2 separate regions of the Homo sapiens genome follow, and region 2 is linked to region 1. Evidence: promoter capture Hi-C in 16 types of primary human blood cells and fetal thymus (Javierre and others, 2016). All regions are on one chromosome and are shown on one strand. The core of a region is centred on a gene start or on the middle of the fragment in contact, and the rest is flanking DNA. Distances in the headings are between cores, read along the strand shown.

Region 1 (6,395 bases), core at 1,764-4,263:
CCAAACTTGGGAAGATAAATATGGGAAGTAAATTTAGAATCAGGAAATTTCTAGACAAATTTCTAAAGGAATTCAAAGTCTATATAATGTGATTATCTTCTTATATTTGAGAGAAAACAGACCTAGAGAAGATAAGAGACTCTCAAGATAACACAGTATACTGTAGACTCTAGAATTAGAACCAGGTAATCTGACAATTAGATCAGTATGCTATACTCTCTAGTAGTCTGTACCTCAGTAGATGCCATAAATTTTCGTATTTCTTATTGTTTTTGTTGTTGTTGTTGCTGTTCGTTTTGGTTTTTTTTGCGATGGAGTCTCACTCTGTCACCCAGGCTGGAATGCAGTGGCACGATCTCGGCTCACTGCAACCTCCACCTCCCAGGTTCGAGTGATTCCCATGCCTCAGCCTCTGGAGTAGCTGGGATTACAGGCGCCTGCCACCACGCCCGGCAATTTTTTTATTTTTAGTAGAGATGGGGTTTCTCTACTAAACCCAGGCTGGTCTCAAATTCCTGACCTCAAGTGATCTGCCTGCCTCGGCTTCCCAAAATGCCGGGATTACAGGAGTGAGCCACCCCAGGTGAATTTTCTTATTTCTTTAAGAGATTATTTTATATTCTTCTATCAATAGATAATTACCAGGAAGTCCTGCTAAATCTCTAGGTTAGTTAAGTGCTCCTCTTCTGGGTTCCCAGACAACCCCGTACCTACCCCAATTTTAACTCTGTAGCAGAACTTGTTTTTTTTTTGTTTTTACATGCCTGTCTACCCCTGCTAGATTGCAAACTCTGAGATTTTAGACTGACCCTTAACTTTCATTATATCCCTCAGTAACTAGCACAGTATTTGGCAAATATCTAATAAGCTATATATATATATATAATGGTTGAACTGATTTGACTTTTTTTGAAGGCTCACCATGATCCTTGTCAACTTCTCCAGCCTCACATCCCTAAACAGTGGCATAGAAGTCTTAGTTTTAGTTCAGCACAAAGACCAGTTTCTTACTGTACAGCTTCTGTTCAAGCAATCCTTTTCCCTTTACTCCTCCCAACCGCCACCACAAGACATCCCACTTCAACTCTCTGGAATCATTTTCTCCTGGAAGTTTTTCCTGACCCATGACCTCTTCCCAAAGTTGGATTAATGCTTCTTCTGAGCTTCAATAGCTCTCTGTGCATTTATCTCTGCACTATACACATTACATCATAGGGTAATAATGCAAACACTCCACCCAAGTTCTTTTTCATTCATGTTGGTATCTTCCAAGATTAGCACACTGCCTGGCACACAGCAGATGAGTTAACAATGTGATTTGAATAAAAAGAACGTGGAACAGGGAAAGAATCTTGGCACACTGTGTGTTTTAGGGATGCACGGACGTGGAAATGCAAATAATTGGTTGTTTACTATATTTTCCTAAGACATGGCTGGAACTAAAAAAAAAACAGAAAAAGCCTTTCCAATTTTGAGGCTAAAGTTCAAGTCACAAAACAAGCAATAAAAGCCTGTTTAGCAAGGATAGTAAAATGGTATAGGGCTATAAAAGAAGGGACAAATTAGAAATCAGGAAAGCAGGCCATTCATACAAATGCAAATAAATTGGTTCACAGGATAAGAGGACACCCAATCATGTAAAAACTGGTACAAGCCAGGCACGGTGTCTTAGGCCTGTAATCCCAGCACTTTGGAAGGCCAAGGCGGGTGGATCACCTAAGGTCAGGAGTTCGAAACCAGCCTGACCAATATGGTGAGACCACGTCTCTACTAACAATACAAAAAGTAGTCAGGCGTGGTGGTGTGCGCCTGTAGTCCCAGCTACTAGGGAGGCTGAGACAGGAGAATTGCTTGAACTCCGGAGGCAGAGGTTGCAGTGAGCCGAGATCACATTACTGCACTCCCGCCTGGGCGACGGAGCAATGCTCTGTCTCACACACACACTCGAAAAAAAAAAAAACTGGTACAAAGATATATTCAAAACCTGTCCCCTAAATGGCCTACGTTACAAGACCTCACCATTACTTTCAAATGAATGCACAAAGCTTTTCCCTTCTAATTCATTCTTATTGTGGTAAAATATACATAACAGAAAATTTACCATTTTAACCATTTTTAAGTGCACAGTTCAGTAGCATTATGTCCATTCATTGTTGTGCAACCAACACCACTATCCATCCTAGATTCATTTTTAAAACAAGAGTCGCAGCTGAAATTTTCCTTTCATTAACTCAGCTTTAGCAACATACTGAACTTTATGCACCACAAAAGTTTTTGCCAGATAAGGTTCAGAAACAGGGAAGAGTGAAATAAATCAATGATCCTTCGTGGGCTTCTGTTAACGGAATGTATTAGCGAAAGGCTTCACTTCATCAGCCCCCTCCCGCCCTTTTTGGCGTCATAAACCAAGAAACAACCAGATCAGCACCCACATCTCCCAAGATGCAAACACTGGGTCCCGAAAGGCATCTGTCCTGCCCCGGCGCAGATCCCCTGCAGCCTCCTTTCCTACTGCACAAATCGACTAGCGCAGGGACCGGGCTCTCTACCCGGGACTGCACGGAGGAGCTAAAGAGAGAAAAGGAGAAACAACATTGTGAGAAAAACGGCTAAAGTTCTCGAACTCCGTGTTTTTGCCCTCTTCTTGTTCACTACTCTTCAACCACCTCCAAGTTCCATCCCTTAAACCCACAAGCGAGCCCCTTTTCTTGACGCGCGCCTTTTATTGACGCAAACCTCCCGTTCTCGCGGGAACTTGGGAACGGGAGCCTGGTAGGGAGGACAAATCTCTCGAAATCTCAGTTGGCGCTGGAGCTGGAGGGGCAGTTGAAGCTCCTGAAGGGCGGGGCACGGAGCTTGAAGGGGCGGGGCCTAGCCTCAGAGAGGGGAGGGAAGAGGCGGGAGGAGGAGGTGAGAGAGGCCGGGGGCGGGGCCGTGCGGCCGGGGACCTGTTGATCGCAGGTATAGCCGGCTGGCCCGGGCTCCCTCGGGACTGGGGCGACTGCGCATGCTCGCTGGCCGCGCTGGGCCAGTAGCCGAGCCGCGGTGACGAACCGGCTCCGCGGTTGCGGTGTTTGCGGTTGCTGTGATGGCGATGTGAGGGGGCCCGGGGCGGGATGGTGCTGACCCGGGTCGGGCCGTCTTCTTGCAGCTGGACAACGAGCTCCTCCGTTCGACAGGCGGGGGAAGAGGCCGAGCCGGGCGAGAGGTAACCCCCTTACTGTCCCCTCTGGCTCCCCCGGCTCCCGACACCCACGACCCCTCCCTCCGTCCCTCTTGCCCAGGGGCCAGGAAGGAAGCGGCCTCCTCTTCGTCCGCCGTTCGCCCGCCGCGGCCCCTCACCCGACTGCTGGCGGTCGGAGCCTGGCCCCGGCCCCGTTGAAGGTCGGTGGGGACGGCGGTGCGGAGCGCTCTGAGGGAGGCGAGGGGCCGCGGCGCGCTGCTCTCCCGGTGCCCGCGGCCGCCCCTGCCCCTGCGCGCGTCCCTCGACCCGTTCTTCCTGAACCTCGCGCCTAGCGTGTTTGCCCTTCACCCCTGCTCCATCTTCGTCGCTCTGTCCCTCCTTTACCCGCTTTCGTGGTTCTGCTTTTTCATCCCGCGCCTCCCACGTGTCTTTTTGCCCGGGTGGTCCCTCCTTGGGAAGCAGCGTATCTCTGTGCTTCCATCCCTTGCCTGGCTCTTCCCTGTCCGGAGCTCCTTACCCTGGCCGACCAGGTTTCTCACTCTTGTTACCTCCATAATTTCTTCCTTGGTTTTATTTTCCTCTCATCCACCTCCTTTCGGTACTTCCTCCTGGTTCCCTTTTTGTTAGTTGCCGATTGTGTTTTGCTTTAGCATCGCTTTGCATTGGAGTTCATTCCATGCCCCATCTTAGCTTCGGAAACCCTCACTGCCTTCTCTTTCCTCTGGTACCCTGCTTCATCGCTTTCTGTCTAATGGCCCCTATCCTCACGTCCTTTTCCATTCTGCACCCAGTGAGTCTCTAATCTTAATTTTTTCCCCTCCAAAACTCTTCCACCCTCCCCCCCCCATTTGTATAAGTCAAGCCTCTTAACTTCATTCCATTTGTTTTACTTTTTATTAAATCTCTGAAGACTTCTTTGTGACATACCCTTCTAGTCCTTGCTGCTTTCTGCCTAAGCTAGGTATCCACTCAATGTTTCTAGTTCATCTTCCAGTTTAATAACATTTCTTCTTTCTTTACCGGTTGGTGGAAGTATCATCAAAAGAGTGACAGTAGCAACAAATCGGTTACACTTACTGATTAAAGCTTTAATTTTTAAGAATTATGTTTACCTGGCATGCCTGGGAAAGCAACTTGAGTACAGACTAAATGAAACTATAATGGGTTAAGACTTGTTAAAGGTTGACCTACAAACATACACTTAAAATTTGGAAATTTTCTTGTCCTCCATTAGGTGTAGCTGTCCAAGAACTAATCTTAAATGAAATTTAACAGAATTTCTTTTTTAAAATGTATTATTAATTTGTTTTATACATTTGCTATTGCAATTGATTGCATAATTTTCCTGAGAGTCTCTGTTCTCTAATAAATGCATACAATTTCTGCTACCTTTAGAATTAGTGTGCTTATAGGAGACATACGTGAGAAGTATTAAATTTTTTAATTGAGCAGAAGAACTTTCTAAACGGTTTTGTAATTTTTTTCCTCCATTGCATTGTGATCAAGATTTGGCTTAAATAAAACTTCTCTTTCCATAAATAATGGTATAGTATCTTATTTTGAAGGCATCTGCTGAAGCAATTATGTTTAGTGAAGTTTGTCTTTATTGTAGGGTTGAAGATCAACTGGATTATGTATTTGGTTCTGGAATCTCAAAGCAGTCCACAAACAAATTCTTCCTTATGTTGTCTGTGTCAGGTAGGAATTAAGTTTTCTGTTTCTGTTTTAAGAAGGGAAATACCAAGGCAAAAAAAAAAGTGTAGTTCCTTATTCAAAGTGATTTAAAGTAAAACTAGGAGGCTCTGGTGTCATCAAACCACACTTCTTTGAGAAGAACTAGCAATTGTGTATGGTAAGAGGTGATGCACTCATCAGCTTTTAAGATTTTTTAAAAATGATTTTTCAAATGCAAATAAAGAAACTGCTGCTTCTCAAGGAAGCTTGCACTTCCTTCAAATAAAAAGCCAGGTCTTTTTATTTTTAGGTAAACATTCATTTTAAAAAAGTAAATGCCTACAAATTCTTGCTGGTATTTTTAGTGAGTTGGTTCCTGTGCTCTTATAAATTAAATAGGGATTTGTGGTGGACAGCAGGCAGAAGACTAGAATTTCTAGTCAGAATATATGAACTCTTATGATGACTCATGACATTAGTTTGTAGAACCCACTTAACCTGTGTATCTCAGTATCTCCAGCTGTAAAGTAATTAATAGCAAAGCAAGCCCTAATCATTTAAACATGCTTAGGGCCACCGCAGACAAAAATTGCTATATAAATACTTAGTTTTTATCTCTTTAATTTTAGACTGTGTAGTAAGAGTATAATTGACTGCTTAAATCCCAAATCAAACATTTCTTTTTTAAATTTCAGACTTCTGTGAAAAGTCTAGTAGAATGCTGGTGAACTGTGGACTAGCACTCTATTAGACTTTTCTAATGTACTAGATAGATGTACCAAATAAAATGACCTGGCTTTGAAAGAAGTGCAAGCTTCCTTGAGAAGCAGCAGTTCTAATGTACTAGAGTTTTCTAATTAGTACATTAACTAATGTTCACACATTAGTTAATGTTCATACACAGTGAAACAGACACTGCAGCATTCAGTTTGTAAAACAGATATTCCTTTTGTTTGCCACGAGTTGACACTGAAAGGAAATGTAAGAGTTACACCTATATCTTTAGTTAATCCTTAATTTTCTGTTTTATATTTTTATTTTGTTTACATTAAATAAAATCTTTATTTTGTTTACATTAAATCCTTGTTGTGAGGGCTGTTTAGGGGGTAGAAAAGCCAAGGATTTCCTTTGCTTTGATTCTAGGTATTGAGGAAAAAGTGCTTTAACATTGAGTTTTTTATATGTACATGTGTGCATTTAAATAAATGGATGGAGCTGAGGGCATATAGATTTGAAGTGTTTTTTCATGAGTTGTTTGTCAGGAAGAAGGTTTAGAGATGACTAGGAATAAGGTGGGGTGTGGTGGCTCATGCCTGTAATTCTAGCACTTGGGGAGGCTGAGGCAGGAGGATCTCTTGAGGCCAGGAGTTCAAGACCAGCCTGGGCAACAGAGCGAAACCCTCTCCTAATTAAAAGAAAGAAAGAGGAATAAGAAGCAGAATGGTAATATAGAAGAAATCATTCTTAATGGACTCAGTGGTTTTTCAGAAAAGTTACAAAGCATAAGTGATTAGGCAGGTCTAGGTTTTTCAGAAGG
Region 2 (6,069 bases), core at 185-2,684, 6.8 Mb before region 1:
TACTATATTAAGCGGCAGAGTTACTAATGTGAATACACATTCTCATTTGATTTGGAGACTACCTAGACAACTTTCAGGTTTATATTTAAATTGATTACAATTAGACATGAAAAAGGGACAGAGAATGGGCATAATAGAGATCGATTCAAGAGAATTGTTTCTTAAAATAGACTTTAAAAAAAAAAGTTGTTCAAAACTGCCTTAATCAATTTTACAGAGAAAATATTACCTCAAATGGTTTGATATGATGACTTGATAAGATGTTACTTCTGATCCAGCAGGATTCATTTATTAATATAAATATTTACATCTGTAGTACCCTCCTAGGTGGGTGACTGTTTCTATATGTCTGACTCAACAAAACACAGTAGCCCACAGGCAGCTATTGGCCTTTGGACTTTGTCCTTAGGCCAGATTCCTTAAAAGGCTTGTTGTGACAAGCTTATTTGCTCATTGGAAATTTCTGTGTCTAAATTTCCCACAGAAATTAGGATGTAGCTCTGCTACAGCATTTTGATTATTCATCAAAACTTACTCAAAAGACTTTTGATAAATCTTTAAATCAATGTCTTAAGGAAGAAAATTAAGTCACTTTTTAATATAGAGCATGTTTTAGTTTTGAACAATATTTAAGCACTGCAAATTATATGTTCATAGAGATTTAAGCATAGGCATACCTTGGAGATATTGCAAGTTCAGCTCCAGACCACCACAATAAAACAGGTATTACAATAAAGGAAGCCACATGCATTTTTTGGTTTCCCATTTACACTACATTGTTGTCTGTTAAATGTGCATAGCACTATGTCTAAAAAATGTACATACCTGTTTTGTCCCACTGAACCCATAGCTGGAGTTGCCTTAAAAGCAGCAGCAGGAGAATTCGTACAACAGAGTACCCCAAACCATTTGAAGACAGGGCTGGTTTGAGATTTCAAAGAAAGCAGCTCTAAATGCCAGAGTGATCAGTCCAAAACATTTATTAAAGGAACTTGCAGGGTGTTGCAATGTATTATTGTGATGGACAGCAAGAGAAAAGGGATGTTTTACCCACATTAGTCTGTAGCCAGGGGGTGAGGGGATGGAGTTTACATGAAAATTTAAGGAATTCGGCTCAGGGTCGGGGTCAGTTTCTTTCCAGTAAACCAAGACATTATTATCAGTGCCTGGGAATGTTCAAGCTGGTTTGGGTTCAAGCCAGCTGAGGAAAACCTATGGCTACAGCTGGCTGGGTCACTGTGATTTTGGTCAAGACACAGAAAGGAAGTGGGGAAAACGGGTACCCTAGAATACCTTAATTTAAAAATACTTTTGCTAAAAAATGCTAACAGTCATCTGAGCCTTCAGCAAGTCATAATCTTTGCTGTTGGAGAATCCTGCCTCAGTGATGATGGCAGCTGACTGATCAGGGAGGTAGTTGCTGAAGGTTAAGGTGGCTGTGGCAATTTCTTGAAATAAGACAATGGAGTTTGCTGCATTGATGACTCCACAAAAAATTTCTCTGTAGCAGGCAGTGCTGTTTGATAGTATTTTACACACAAGAGAACTCCTTTCAAAGTTGCAATCAGTCCTCTTAAAACTCACCCACTGCTTTATCAGCTAAGTTTATGTGATATTCTAAATCCTTTATCATTTCAACAATGCTTACGGCATCTTCACCAGCAGTAGATTCTATCTCAAGAAACCACTCTCTTTTCTCCTTCATAAGAAGCAACTCCTCATTCATTCAAGTTTGATCATAAAATTGCAGCGATTTAGTCAACTCTTCAGACTCTGTTTCTAACTCCAATTGTCTTGCTATTTTCACCATATTTGTAGTGATTTCCTCCACTGAAGTCTTGAACGCCCTCAAGGTCATCCATGAGAGTTGGAGTTAACTTCTTTCAAACTCCTGTTCATGCTGATACTTTTACCTCCTCTCATGAATGTTCTTAATGGCATCTAGAATCCTTTCCAGAATGTTTTTGGTTTACTTTGCTTAGATCCATCAGAGGAATCACCATCTACAGCAATTTATAACCTTATGAAATGTACTTGTTAAATATTAAAACCTGAAAGTCAAAATTATTCCTTGATCCATGGGTTGCAGAATGGATGCTGTGTTAGAAGGCATGAAAACAATATTACTCTCCTTGTACATCTCCATCAGAGCATTTCAGTGACCATGTGCATTGTCAAGGAGCAATAGTATTTTTAAATAAATCACGTTTTATCAGTAGGTCTCAACAGTGGACTTAAAATATTTAGTGAGCCATGCTAAACAGATGTGCTGTCAACCAGGTTTTGTTCTTCCACTTATAGAGCACAGCAGAGTAGATTTAGCATAATTTTTAAGGGTCCTAGGATTTTCAGAATGGTAAATGAACATCTGCTTCAACTTAAAGTCACCAGCCACATCAGCCCCTAACAAGAGAACTGCCTGTCCTTCGAAGCTTTGAAGCCAAGCATTGACTTCTATAGCTATGAAAGTCTTGGACAGCATCTTCTTCCAGTATAAGACTGTTTTGTCTACATTGAAAATCTGTTATTTAGTGTAGCCACCTTCATCAATGTTCTTGGCTAAATCTTCTCAATAACTTGCTGCAGCTTCTCCATCAGCACTTACTGCTTCACCTTTCATTTTTATGTTAGGGAGAGGGCTTCTACTCTTAAACCTCATGAATCCACCTCTGCTATCTTCAGACTTTTCTTCTACAACTTCCTCACCTCTCTCAGCCTTCATAAAAATGAAGAGAGTTAAGGCCTTGCTCTGAATTAGGCTTTGACTTAAGAGAATGCTGTGGCTGGTTTTCTATCCAGAACTCTAAAACTTTCTCCTTATCAACAATGAGGCTGTTTCACTTTCTTATCATTCCTGTGTTCACTGGAGTGGCACTTTTAACTTCCTTCAAGAGCTTTTCCTTGGCATTCACAACTTGACTGTTTTGGGTATGAGGCCTAGTTTTCGGCCTATCTCTGCTTTCAACTTGCCTTACTCAGCTTAATCATTTTTAGCTTTGATTTAAAGTGAGAGATGAATGACTCTTCCTTTCACTTGAACACTCAGAGGCCACTGTAGGGTTATTAATTGGCCTAATTTCAGTATTGCTGTGTCTCACTGAGGGACTGGCCCATCAGCGGAGCAGTCAGAATATATTCAACATTTATCAAATAAGTTTGCCATCTTAAATGGGTACAGTTTGTGGTGGCCCAAAACAATTCCAATAACAATATCAAAGATCACTGTTCACAAATTGCCATAACAAATGCAATAATAATTTAAAAGTTTGAAATATTGGGAGAATTACCAAGATGTAACACAGAGACATGAAATGAGCACATGCTATTGGAAAAATGGCTCTGATAGACTTGCTCGACAAAAAGCTGTCACAAACCATCATTTTGTTAAAAAAAAAAAACAATATTTGCAAAGCACAATAAATGAAGGTATGCCTGTATACTACATATTTATTTTTAATAATCATATAAGAAAATTAATTGGATATAAAATAGGCTGTTCTAAAACAGCAAGAGGGAAATAAACTTTAACAATGCTGACAGCAGCCATGGCATACTTGAATTTTTAGGACTCTTGTTAAATATGGGTATGGGAACTTACCCTCTGCACTAGTATCCAGACACTTACTAGATTATGGCCCATTGGGGTATTTGCCTCTATTACATATATTTGCTAGACTGTCATTATACCTTGCAATCTAGTGTCTTTTTCTAGGTTGATATTGTCACGTTTAATCTATTATGGCAATGATATTACTCTTGCTATGTTAAATGTTTTTATCAGACTTCCTTGTAGCCCCAACCAATCTGAGAAGATTGAAAATCAAGGAATCCTTCACTCCTTTTGTAAACTTGGTAAAATGGAATCAATGTTTACTAGATCTGCTGTTCTTGTGAAGATTTCTCTGTTCTTCTTCATCAAGATTTGCCAATCTTCCTCTGCACTCTTGCCTTCTGCAGTCTTTCCTCTTCCATAAAAATATCGCTTATAATATTCTTTTTTTGAAATGAAGTCTCACTCTGTCTCCCAGGCTAGAGTGCAGTGCCATGATCTCGGCTCACTGCAGCCTCTGCCTCCCAGCTTTCCAGTGATTCTCCTTCTTCAGCCTCCCAAGTAACTGGGATTAGAGGTGCCTGCCACCATGCCCAGCTAATTTTTTGTATTTTTAGTAGAGATGGGTTTCACCATGTTGACCAGGCTGGTCTTGAACTCCTAACTCCTAATCTCAGGTGATCCACCCACCTTGGTCTCCCAAAGTACTGGGATTACAGGCATGAGCCTGTATGCCACCATGCTCAACTTCCTTATAATATTCTTCTAGTCTTATTTCCCAACTGCTGGCTTTTATATTTTGAATTGTCAATAGAAAGCCCTGCCTATCGTGATGAGGTTAAGGACACATGTTTTGCTGAGAGAAGTAACTTCCAGCTGAGAATCTTGTTTAGCAGGAGAGAAAATCCTCTATTTTAGAGCCTCTCCTGGAGCTTAGAGTAAGCATTGGCTTTTAGAGGTGTTTTCTCCCTTTTTGATGTCTGGAAGCACTATTTTCAAGTCTGTTAGAGACCCACTTTAAATAAGTACAGGTGCTAATGCTCTGAGTGCAAGTCTGTAAGGGTTAGTGAGTCCTCAAATCACAGAAGTCTCCTGACCAATGCTGGGATGTTCTACTGTTCTCCAAGAATCTGCAGCTTAAAAGTATTAAACTAAATACAGCAGACACCCTCAGCATAGCAGTGAACCACAATGGCAGCTGACAAGCAGGAACATTTAATGGATTGGTCAGCAAGACCACACTTATATCTTGTTTAAAATGTGTCCTTTCCTTTGGGAGACTGAGGCAGGCAGATCTCTTGAGGTCAGGAGTTCAAAACTAGCCTAGTCAACATGGAGTTTTCTAAAAGTACAAACAAATTAGCCAGGTGTGGTGGCAGGTGGCTGTAATCCCAGCTACTTGGGAGGCTGAGGCAGGAGAATTGCTGGAACCCAGGAGGCTGAGGTTGCAGTGAGCAAAGATTGCACCACTGTGCTCCAACCTGGGCAAAAGAGCAAGACTCCATCTCAAATAAATACATAAAATAAAATGCATCGTTTCTCTCAACAGCAAAAGCCTTATTTTTTCATCCTTTAAATATGTTACTTTCATAGTAGGATAAGATGGTACCTTGTCTGAGAGGCTAAGACCCCCAGGCCACTTGAGAATTTGAGAGCTTTTAGAACTTGATGAGCATAGCTGACTGGATACTTCGTGTCAGCACTGCTTGTGGTAATTACAGGATCTGTGGATCACAAGGCTCACAACTTGTATCACAAGTTCTACAAGAAAATTGGCTAACACATATTTGGCTCTGTTAATCATTTGCTGAGTTTATATCTTGTCCCACCAAATGTATTTTTTGAAATGCCATTACATGAAAAAGTTTCACTATTCCAATTATCTGTGTTTACCAACTTGTGGAGTAAGAGTGGCTGACTGAATATGTGCTTTTTAACTACACTATTATATACATTGGCCAAGCTTTTTATATTAACCCTACCCATGAAGTATCACCAATATTTCCCCCAGTGTGAAATTGACATTTGTCAAAAGCCTTTTGCCATATAAAAGTTTTTAGTTCTTATATATGAAATCTGTCCCTTTTTTTCGACATGAGTTCCCCAGCCTGCTTAGCTTTGCCCCTACCACCCAAGATTTTTAAGCTTTCTATATTTTCTTAGAATTTAAGATTTTAAAGTCTTTACTTTTTTAAATCATTTATTTGTAAAGGGACATATTTCTCAAGTGTGCTAGTTTTCCTTGATTTTAATGGATTAAAATGTGTCGTAGGTGAGCCATTTTCTTCCAAATGACGAAGAGTTTTTGTTCCTTTGAAAGTCTGGCCCAGGATTTTGTTTGTTTTTGTTTTTTTAAAGTTCTTATTTTACTTACAGAGTTAAGAAAGTTGAATAACTATACAACCAGTCTCTAAATAGAAGTTCTAATAAATCCTAAGATGTTGCAGGGCACTGAAAGAGGACAAAATTTGATCCCTAAAGCCCTCTCCAATCTCATACTCGGTGAAAATAACAAACAA

What was found. The method cuts DNA at HindIII sites, captures the fragments that hold promoters and counts their contacts. A CHiCAGO score of 5 or more calls a contact.
Region 2: a fragment that was not itself captured here is called in contact with the fragment with the promoter of FAM135A in region 1 in 1 of 17 cell types (activated CD4 T cells); the score reaches 5.1 in activated CD4 T cells.

What each region holds. Positions count from the first base shown.
Region 1 is chr6:70,410,495-70,416,889 of GRCh38, forward strand. It overlaps FAM135A (family with sequence similarity 135 member A), which reads left to right and starts at 3,014. Exons shown (of 22, transcript NM_001162529.3): 1 at 3,014-3,208; 2 at 4,797-4,882. It overlaps FAM135A-AS1 (FAM135A antisense RNA 1), which reads right to left and starts at 3,464. Exons shown (of 2, transcript NR_147708.1): 1 at 3,343-3,464; 2 at 2,334-2,568. RefSeq lists silencers at 2,821-3,040, 3,381-3,530. The HindIII fragment of the contact is 2,225 bases long and covers 2,044-4,268 here.
Region 2 is chr6:63,565,273-63,571,341 of GRCh38, forward strand. LOC124901228 (translation initiation factor IF-2-like) reads right to left here. Exons shown (of 2, transcript XM_047419610.1): 2 at 963-6,069. It also overlaps a transcript of LGSN not described here and a transcript of PTP4A1 not described here. Among named protein-coding and RNA genes, the nearest start is that of PTP4A1, 4.2 kb to the right of the region's middle. The HindIII fragment of the contact is 1,991 bases long and covers 440-2,430 here.